Regions from separate parts of the Homo sapiens genome. Here region 1 is linked to region 2. Evidence: promoter capture Hi-C in 16 types of primary human blood cells and fetal thymus (Javierre and others, 2016). All regions are on one chromosome and are shown on one strand. Each heading gives the region's core, a stretch centred on a gene start or on the middle of the fragment in contact. The rest is flanking DNA. Distances are from core to core; before and after follow the strand shown.

Region 1 (5,064 bases), core at 919-3,418, 2.8 Mb before region 2:
AGGAGTTCGAGACCAGCCTGGCCAACATGGCGAAACCCCCTCTACTAAAAATACAAAAATTAGCCAGGCGTGGTGGTGCACACTTGCCGTCCCAGCTACTTGGGCAGCTGAGACAGGAGAATCACTTGAACCCCAGAGGTGGAGGTTGCAGTGAGCTGAGATCATGCCACTGCATTCCAGCCTGGGCAACAGAGTGAGACTCTGTCTCAAAAAATAAAAAAATAAAAATAAATAAAAATTTTAAAAAATAAAAAATAAAATATGGGAGGTGAATTAGGTCTGCCACAAAAAATGTAATTAAACAAAATAAAACCACCTTTTACTGAAAATCTTAAAAAGCAAAGAGGATATACTAAATCTCAAAAGTGATCTCTTCTTAGAATGCCATGTTAGAGGAAGACAGAAGAACTCTCAGTTACAATTTTGTTCAATTCCTTTCCAAAGGCTCCTATCCAACTTTAATCTTTGGGTTACAGGGACAACATATGGGAGCTTAGTCAAAGCTCTTTGGGAACCAATAAGGAAGAAGCCTTTTTTTTTTTTTTTTGAGACAGACTTTCACTCTTGTTGCCTAGGCTGGAGTGCAATGGTGTGATCTCAGCTCACTGCAACCTCCACCTCCAGGGTTCAAGCCATTCTCCTGCCTCAGCCTCCCAAGTAGTGGGATTACAGGCATGTGCCACAACACCCGGCTAATTTTGTATTTTTAGTAGAGGTGGGTTTTCACCATGTTGGTCACGTTGGTCTCAAACTCCTGAACTCCGGTGATCTACCCGCCTCAGCCTCCCAAAGGGATGGGATTGCAGGCATGAGCCACCGCAACCGGCCAAAAAGAAAACTATTTATTTATTTATTTATTTATTTATTTTTATTTTTTATTTTTTAGACGGAGTCTCGCTCTGTCACCAGGCTGGAGCGCAGTGGCGCAATCTCGGCTCACTACAACCTCCGCCTCCCAGGTTCAAGCAATTCTCCTGCCTCAGCTTCCCGAGTAGCTGGGACTACAGGCGCCCACCACCACGCCCAGCTAATTTTTTGTATCTTTAGTAGAGACGGTGTTTCACCATATTAGCCAGGATGGTCTCGATCTCCTGACCTCGTGATCCGCCCGCCTCGGCCTCCCAAAGTGCTGGGATTACAGGCGTAAGCCACTGCGCCCGGCCCTAAAAAGACTATTAAAGCAAGTTTCTGGATTAATCTGAGTTGAATGGGAAGGACTACTTTTTATTTCTGAAAACTATCAATTGCAAGGTATTGGAGGCTTTCTGCAGCCTTGGTATCTGTCAATTAAGTTGTTCAGAGCACAAGAATAAGAGCATGGAACAATTTTAGACAGAACCAGAGAATGCATTTCTAATCCCAGCCAACTTTGATTACCACTGGGGACAAAATATTCAGTTTGTATGTATCTGTGTAGCTGTTTACAGATTAAAGTACATTTCTAAACCCTGTCATTTAATAAAACAACTTGGTGAAGTAACAAGGACCAGTATTTTGATAAAACATCTAGGTAATATAGTCTTGGTATCAGGATAACCACTATCCCCCAGTCCCTGTCCAACCCTTTTTACATCAATAAATAAAAAGTACAGCAAGGGTAAGAGATTTGTCCAAGGTCATTCAGTAAATGGATGCCTCCAAGCAAACCTATTGTTACAAAGACTATCTCTACTCTTTGGGCCTCAGAGATCATTTCTAAAAGACTCGCAAATCTACATTTTGAACCTAAACATGTGCATGCGTGAGCTCTATCATCTGAGATGTGGATATCTCCATGTTCACATTCCATCACTGCAGATACAACATGCCATCTCCCCATCCAAACATTCCTATTCTGTCAATACTATCACTCTCTGACTTTCAGGGATAGAAGGCTGATTTCAGCCTTCACTCTTTAAATTCTCCTCCCCTACTCATTTTGTTGAATCATACCAATTCTTTTTAACAAAGATGTACAGATCACTTACCTTGTACTGAGCACAAATGCATCTGTTTGACTTTGCCCTTCCCTCTTTTTCAACCCTTACTTGGTCCTCATCATCTTATATTTACCATTCTAATATTTACCCTACAGTCTTCCTGTCTCTATCCTCCTCTCCCTCTCTTGAGTTCTTATGCCCCATTTTAAAATTATTCTTATGCCAATAATCCTAGCACTTTGGGAAGCCGAGGCAGGAGGATTAATTGAGGCCAGGAGTTTGAGACTGGTCTTGGAAACATTGTGAGACCCTGTCTCTACAAAAAAAAAAAAAAAAAGTAAAAATCAGCCAGGCAGCTAGGTACAGTGACTCACGCCTGTAATCCCAGCACTTTAGGAGGCCAAGGCAGGCAGATCACGAGGTCAGGAGATGGAGACCATCCTGGCTAACACGGTGAAACCTCGTCTCTACTAATAAACAAAAAAAATTAGCCGGGCGTGGTGGCCAGTGCCTGTAGTCACAGCTACTCAGGAGGCTGAGGCAGGAGAATGGCATGAACCCGGGAGGCAGAGCTTGCAGTGAGCCCAGATTGCGCCACTGCACTCCAGCCTGGGCGACAGAGCAAGACACTGTCTTAAAAAAAAAAAGGGATAAAAAAATTAGGCATGGTGGCACATGCCTATAGTCCTAGCTACTCAGGAGGCTGAGTCAAGAGGATGGCTTGAGCTCAGGAGTTCAAGACTGTAGTGAGCTATGATTGTGCCACTGCACTTCAGCCTGGGCAACAGTGTGAGACTCTGTCTCTTAAAAAAAAAGGAAAAATTTTAAATTTAATAATTATTAAAAATTAATGAAAATTATTAAAATAATTTTTTGAGACAGGGTCTTGCTCTGTCACCTACACTGGAGTGATGTGGAGTGATCTCAGCTCACTGCAACTTCCACCTTCCAGGCTCAAGCAGCCCTCCCACTTCTGCCTCCCAAGTAGCTGGGAATACAGGCACATGCCACCATGCCTGGCTAATTATTGCATTTTTTTTTTAGAGAGGGTTTCAACATGTTACCCAGGCTGGTCTCGAACTCCTGGGCTCAAGCAATCGCCTGCCTTGGCCTCCCAAAGTGCTGGAATTACAGGCATGAGCCACCATGCCCAGCCTAAAATAATTATTAATATAAGATAAAATTATTCTTTCTAACCTACCACACGTCATATTAACACTGTGCTCCAAAGTCATCAGCAACTCCCATACATTTCTTGGATAATGTCCAAACTACTCAGACCTTAGGCCAGACACAAGTGGCTCATACCTGTAATCCCAGCACTTTGGGAGGCTGAGGCAGGAGGATCACTTGAGCCTAGGAGTTTGAGAGAAGCCTGGCCCACAAAGTGAGACCTAGTCTCTTAAAAAAACAAAAACAAGGCCGGGCACGGTGGCTCATGCCTGTAATCCCTGCACTTTGGGAGGCCAAGATGGGTGGATCACCTGAGGTCAGGAGTGTGAGACCAGCCTGGCCAACATGATGAAACCCCATCTCTACTAAAAAGAAAAATTAGCTGGGCGTGGTGGCTCACACCTGTAATCCCAGCTATTCAGAAGGCTGACGAAGGAGAATCGTTTGAACCCAGGAGGCGGAGGTTGCAGTGATGCGAGATCATGGCGCTGCACTCCAGCTTGGGCAACAAAAGCAAAACTCCATCTCAAACAAACAAACAAAAATACTCATACACAATGACACTATCTTTCCAACTCTGTCTTCCACTACTCTTAAGTCTAATATTAGACTGATTTTACCATTTCCCCTAATCCTCAAGATAGTTACAATCCCACTTTACTCCACTAAGAACTTCCAGTAGTGAGACTGACCTTCATGTCTTAGCTCATATTTTTCATCTTCTCTCCTATTCCCTTGCTTCCACTACCAGACTGTGACATCTTTGAGAATGACCATCATATCTCACATCTATTTCACTACAGTGCCAAATGCAATGCCCTTCCGAGCAGTCATCCACACAAGAGATGGCTGAAAATGAATGGGAAAATCCCCTAAGACCACATGTCCTTCTGGATAAGGAATCAAAGGTGTGGTGCTCTTCACAATGAGGACATTACAAAAAAGTCAATTATTCAATATATATTTATTGAGCATCGTTTATGTGCTCCAAAGCATCTTAGTTTGTTAAATTGAGTCTTGAACCACTGTAGTATCATATAGTAAAAATATGAAAAATTGTACTCCTGAATTTTTTTTAATTTCCAAGAAGAGTGATATTTAAATTTTAGTCCATTTTAAAGACCTGATGTAATTATTATCTAGGGAAGAGAGGACAGAGGAAGAAGTAGAATTAAATTTAATTTAAATCAACTGAATTCAGGCACTGGACCGATGCATGTTATATTGTTCTCTCCCTCGTCATTATTTTATTTTAATATTTTAAACTACAAAGCAGGAAGATAAACTCACCATAGTAAAACAAAATATTTTATGCAGGATGTTAAAGATTTTAGTTTTAAAGAATCACTTTGTTTTCTAAGCTGTTCTGCAGAAATCTATAAAATGTTAAAAAGAGAACAGTACAATTAATGGCAGCGGCATAAAAACAGGCAGTGGTGCAAGTGAGAATGCACTGGAGCACACAGCAGGATTCCAGTGACACCACACATTCTTCACACACTGTAACAACTTTGATGCTGTTGTTAGCAAGGATTTGAACTCTTCTTCAAAATTTACTGTAGGGGCAAGGTACAGTGGTTCACTGCCTATAATCCCAGCACTTTGGGAGGCCAAGGTAGACAGACCACTTGAGATCAGGAGTTCAAGACCAGCCTGGCCAACATGGCGAAACCATCTCTACTGAAAAGACAAAAATTAGTTAGGCGTGGTGGCACACACCTGTAGTCCCAGCTGCTCAGGAGGCTGAGGCATGAGAATCGCTTGAACTCGGGATTACAGTAAGCCGAGATCACGCCACTGCATTCCAGCCTAGACTACAAGAGAGATTCCGTCTCAAAAAAAAAAAAAATTGTTTCCTTCCTCCTTTCTCAGATTTGGCACCTTTTCAAAAGCAGCATGAAATATACTAGAGATATATTCAAATTCCTTCCTACTGTGAAGCAGGCTATACCACCAGCATAAACTACATAAT
Region 2 (5,089 bases), core at 437-2,936:
GCTACAAAGAGCTCTTAGGTGCGGCCCAGGCACAATGGCTCACGCCTGTAATCCCAACACTTTGGAAGGCCTAGGCGGGCAGATCACCTGAGGTTGGGAGTTCCAGGCCAGCCTGGCCAACAGGGATAAACCCCGTCTTTACTAAAAATACAAAATTAGCTGGGCGTGGTGGTGCATGCCTGTAATCCCAGCTACTCGGGAGGCTGAGGAAAGAGAATCGCTTGAACCTGGGAGGCAGCGGAGGTTGCAGTGAGCCGAGATGGCACCATTGCACTCCAGCCCGGGCAACAAGAGCGAAACTCCGTCTCAATAAAAAAAAAAAAAAAAAAAGAAAGAAAGAAAGAAAGAGAGAAAAGAAAAGAGTTCTTAGGTGTGAGGCCCTGCAAGGAGCAAATGGCCTGGGCTACCTTCACTGATGCCCTCAGCACCTTCTAAGGTGAGGCTAACACCAGCTCACATTGATGAGCTAGTGCTGGGCCTGGAGCAAAATGTGTATTTCATTTAAGCTGCCCACCAGCTTGTGAGGCAGGTGCATTACCGTGACGGCGGGGCTCCTCAGAGTGTGTATAAGAAGAAAACTGTGCATGGCCAAAGCTATGCTTGAAAACCCTCAGGAAGGCACCACCTCAAGGACCAACATAGCATCACTTAGTAAAGGCAACAGCCTTGGAACAGATGACTCGTGTGTGTGTGTGTGTGTGTGTGTGTGTGTGTGTGGCATTAGATGAAGTAGTAACTTGTGTTTAGAGGTTGCCTTATTGCACAAATATAGTTGCTTTTATACACTGGACTCACCCTCTGCCAATAAGTTGTTCAGTTATGAGAAATGAACAATGTCTGAAACTAAGAAAACAGCAAATTCTCACCTCCTATCTCCAGGGAATGTGCTCTTTGGCTAGAATATATGGCAGAATCAATAGTGAATAAAATATATTGTGGAAACAATAGTGAATGGAATATATGACACTACCAATAGCAATTGTTAAGTTTTTTTTCTTTTTAATTTTTCTTTTTAGGTTTGTCTAGTTGAATGCATCTAAGTTTTATGTGCATATGAAGAATCACTGTTTTCCTATTATACAGATTTGGAAACTGAGATTCCCAGCTTTTAACTCCTTGCCTAAGGTTGCATAGCACAGAAATAGTCATATCAGAAACTGAGCCCTGTCTGCACAGTGTAGCACCTTGTTCAGCCCTGGGTGCCTGACTCACTCACTCCTTGAGGACCCTCTCATGACAACTGTAAAGAGGCAGCTGAAAGAATCCCAGTCTTTGATGGTGGGAGGGGAAAGTGGTTGGAAAGCATTAAAAAAACATGCTCCAGCAGTTCACTGATGTGGGAAATTGTCTGTATTTCAGGTCAACCGTCAGGATAGATTTTGGTCTGCAAAGCCCCAGCTGAGCAAGAATGCAGTGTAGACATATGGGTGCCCAGAGTTTAAAGGAAAATTACTCAGACTCACATTGGAGTTTAAGACCCCTTCATTGCCTCTCCTACTGGGTTGGGGTGACTGGAGCCAGTGGGGAATTACCAACCCTGTGGCTCTCTCTGCATCTCAAGCCTCCAGAGCTGGGCTTCCTTGTTTACTTATTTAGAGCCCAGCAGAGGAAGTGGTAAAGGAAACTAGCTGAGTCGTTTTCTGAGAAGAGACCATATTTGTTCGCAGAGGAAGCCGTTGCTTTCTGGGATCTGGCTACGCCAGAAAAGACATCGGCTCCAACAGGGGTGTTCCACAGGGTAGCTGGGAGTTGGAAGAGCCAAGAACGCCTCCGAGCTCTGGATTTGAGCTTCTCTGCCCATGGGTGAAGCGCCCATGCTCAGCTTGTGAGCTTCTTCCCGGGAGAGCAGCCATGGCACTGAGGAATGTGCCCTTTCGCTCAGAGGTCCTGGGCTGGGACCCCGACAGCCTTGCTGACTATTTCAAGAAGGTAAGCCTTGCTCTTGTGTGAATGGTCATGATGCTAGTGCCCTTGGTGGGCTGAGCTGAGGCTTGACGATGGAATTGGGGCAGAATGTGGGAGGTGTATAAGATAGCAATGGAACCCTATGGCAACTTTACTGGTTGAGTGAGCGCCATATAGACCGCTGAGTTTTCCTGACCATGAGTTCCGGAGAGAAGGATGGGAGCAGAAGCCCTCAAATGAGTATGTGCCTATTATGTGCTAGGGTTTGAATTCGGTGTCTCACAGGCACTGTCCCATTTAGCGCTCCCTACTATGTTGTGAGGTCAGCATTGTTATCCCCTTGACTCAGCTGCAAAATCAGCTCAGGGAAGTGAAATGGTCCGAAGCCCTAGGGACTACATGTGATAGAGGCAAGACTCAAGCCACACCTATCTGGTTTTAAAGTCCATGCTCTGAGATGCAGAGAACTGTTGTAACTGCTAATGAGATCAACGCTACTTACTAGAAAGGGGAGACGTGGTGTCCTGGAGGCAGGAGAAAGAATAGGCAGGGTGGGAGGGCTGGATAGAGGACTATGATGAGCAGTGCCAGACACAGCATTTGGGCTTTCACTGCTCACGACCCTAAGGGGGGTCCTCAAGCTCCCGCCTGGGGCAGTCTCCTTGGAGCCTTATGAGAGTCTTGTGAAGCAGGACAGAAAACTGATGTGAGCCCCAATTTATAGCTATGAAAACTGAGGCCCCTAGAGGAAAAGAGGCTTGTGGCGGTGCTGGGACCAGAGCGTTGCTGTCTTATCTTCTGGACTTAGAGGAAAGGTTGAAGGATCCCTGTGCTTGGTCATTGGCAGAAGGGGACAACGCATCTGCTTGGGCAGATCTCAAGCCACATGACTTAGTTATAGTCCCTCTACCCTGACCATGTGGTAAGATGACTTGTGCGAGACGGTTAAGCTTCTAACACCCTCATCCCTGCAGGCTGGCATCGGATTCTGTTGATATTCCAGACTGTCATAAAGATGAGATTGTAAAGCTAAGATGGTAGAAGTCATCTAATTCAGCTTCGTGTTTTTCCTGGGGAAATTGAGATTCAAGAGGGTAGACGAGGTTCCCTAGGACGTATAGCCAAACCTGGGGTCTATGCATTTCCGAGGCATTTATAGTCACAGCTGTTCTCCCCCAACCTGAAGAAGAAAATGAGAACATGTTGAACTAGGTGTGGTATGGTAGGGGTACAGTTCACAGATCCTGTTTTTTGCCATATTTTGTGCTTTCATTTCTGTTATTTTCCTTCTGCAAGGTCATAATAAACTTAGATTTCAGCAAATATTGTTGCGCAACTGGTTTTTTGAAGGATGTTTCTAAATATCTTGCTCAAATATAGACCAAATAAGATAGGGCAACAAGGTAAAATTTGCCAAGAGGGAATAAAGTGGCATGTTACCTTGATAAGGGAAAAAGAAAGGAATTGAGAATTATGAAGAGAAAGACTTGGGACGGGCTGAGAGGCACAGATAGGCCTAACATTCAGGTGTGACCAGGAGAATTATACAATCCAATTGAGCAACAGAGAATTGATCCCTAAAACTCCCATCAGTACAGGGAGATGGACCACGGGTCAGGGATGGTACAGGAAGACCTCACTGCCTGAGCTGGGGGAAGGGAGAGTTTTCTTCCTGGAGATCTCAGACCCCAGGACAAATCTACAGCACCCAGGCAGGTTCCTTCTTCTGCCATAAATGGACTGAGGGAAGAAACTAGGAGACTGAGGCAAATCTGTGATCCTGGAAGTTCTAGTCCCTCCACAGACTTGGATAGAAACCCTTCAGATTCTGAGTACCTCAGCCCCCTGAAAGAAACTACCAAACGAATGGACCGCAGAGTCATTTGGGAATGGATCTTAGCTGTCAAACATGACATGTAAAGAATTGATCTGCAGATGCAAACTCTACCCAAGTAGTGGGGTCAGGCCTCCCTTGGAGACAGCTCTCGACTCAGCTCTGAGGTCGGACACACTTTACCCTGGCTCTGCCACCTGCTAGCTTGGCGACTTTCCTGTAGTTGCTTTGCCTCTCTGTGCCTCAACTTCCTCATCAGTGAAATAGAGATATGAACAGTAACTAACCCAATGGGTTGGTTGTGAGGATTAAAGCAAATGATGTGTGCAAGGCACTCAGCAGACAAATGGATCCTAATGCGTGTTCCTTCTGCCCTTTTACCTTCTCTATTAACTGGCTCCTAGCTGGGGACACCCATGCAGACTGGTGGGACTTTGCGTCTTCTTGTCTCTGACATGGGTACCTCGTCCTGTGTCTGGAATATAAGCTCCTGAGGACAGAGACCATGTTACATATTTGTTCAATCTCTCCAATTCCTTTTGACTTGCAGGAGAACATCCTTGGGTCGTGCAGTGGAGAGGCACTGGCTCAGAGCTGTGTGTCCTAATCCCAGGTGGGGTCCCAGCTGGTATCCCAGCTCACTGTGTGACCTTAGACCAGCCTCTTTCCCTCTAGAGGCCTCAGTCTTCCTTACTACAAATCCAGGTAACTTTTCTGGACCAGTGCCTACCAATGCTGGATGCCATAGGAATCGTCTAGGGTGCTCCTTAAAAATACAGATTTGAGGTCCACAAGCCTAGATCTTGCTGGAGCAGAATCAAATGCCTGGGTCCCAGTCTGCAGGACTCTCTGCTGATCTAGACACAAAGTTAGCACTCTTCAAAATCATCTGGTTTATCTCATAATGATAACAGTGAGAATGATGAATTAAAGGCAGTTGACTCTTCCAAGAACCACTTACCCCCCACTGCCTGTAGATAAAGGGGATACCAGGGCTCCATAGATGGGATGTGCTTTCAATATCAACTTCTAAGTCAGCTTTCTGAGTGTGATAATCATCCCACCCTTCCAAGCTAAGATTTCATAACAATTGTATTTATTCTTTGGATTTGCTAGCTATAAGATAAAAATATGGCTTAAAATGTGCTCCAAAAGAAGGCTGCCACAAACCATGAGGCCCACCCTTGTGAGAAGAACCTAGGATCCTCAAGGAGAAACATTTAACCTCAAATGCTCCACCCCAAAGCAGCAAGTTGAGAGATACTTCAAATGTGAACATTTATGCTGTTGAGGACAAGTTGAAACTAGCACCTCATATGATTGCTGATTGGTCTAGGAAAATAACCAAGA

Evidence for each region. Contacts are between HindIII fragments. The CHiCAGO score rates a contact against its expected background, and 5 or more counts as called.
Region 1: a fragment that was not itself captured here is called in contact with the fragment with the promoter of LCP2 in region 2 in 1 of 17 cell types (activated CD4 T cells); the score reaches 5.5 in activated CD4 T cells.

What each region holds. Positions count from the first base shown.
Region 1 is chr5:173,069,785-173,074,848 of GRCh38, reverse strand. All of the region lies in intron 1 of CREBRF (CREB3 regulatory factor), which reads right to left. Among named protein-coding and RNA genes, the nearest start is that of CREBRF, 16 kb to the right of the region's middle. The HindIII fragment of the contact is 5,988 bases long and covers 1-5,064 here.
Region 2 is chr5:170,294,374-170,299,462 of GRCh38, reverse strand. It overlaps LCP2 (lymphocyte cytosolic protein 2), which reads left to right and starts at 1,686. Exons shown (of 21, transcript NM_005565.5): 1 at 1,686-1,929. The coding sequence starts at 1,852. RefSeq lists an enhancer at 2,504-2,583. The HindIII fragment of the contact is 7,744 bases long and covers 1-2,857 here.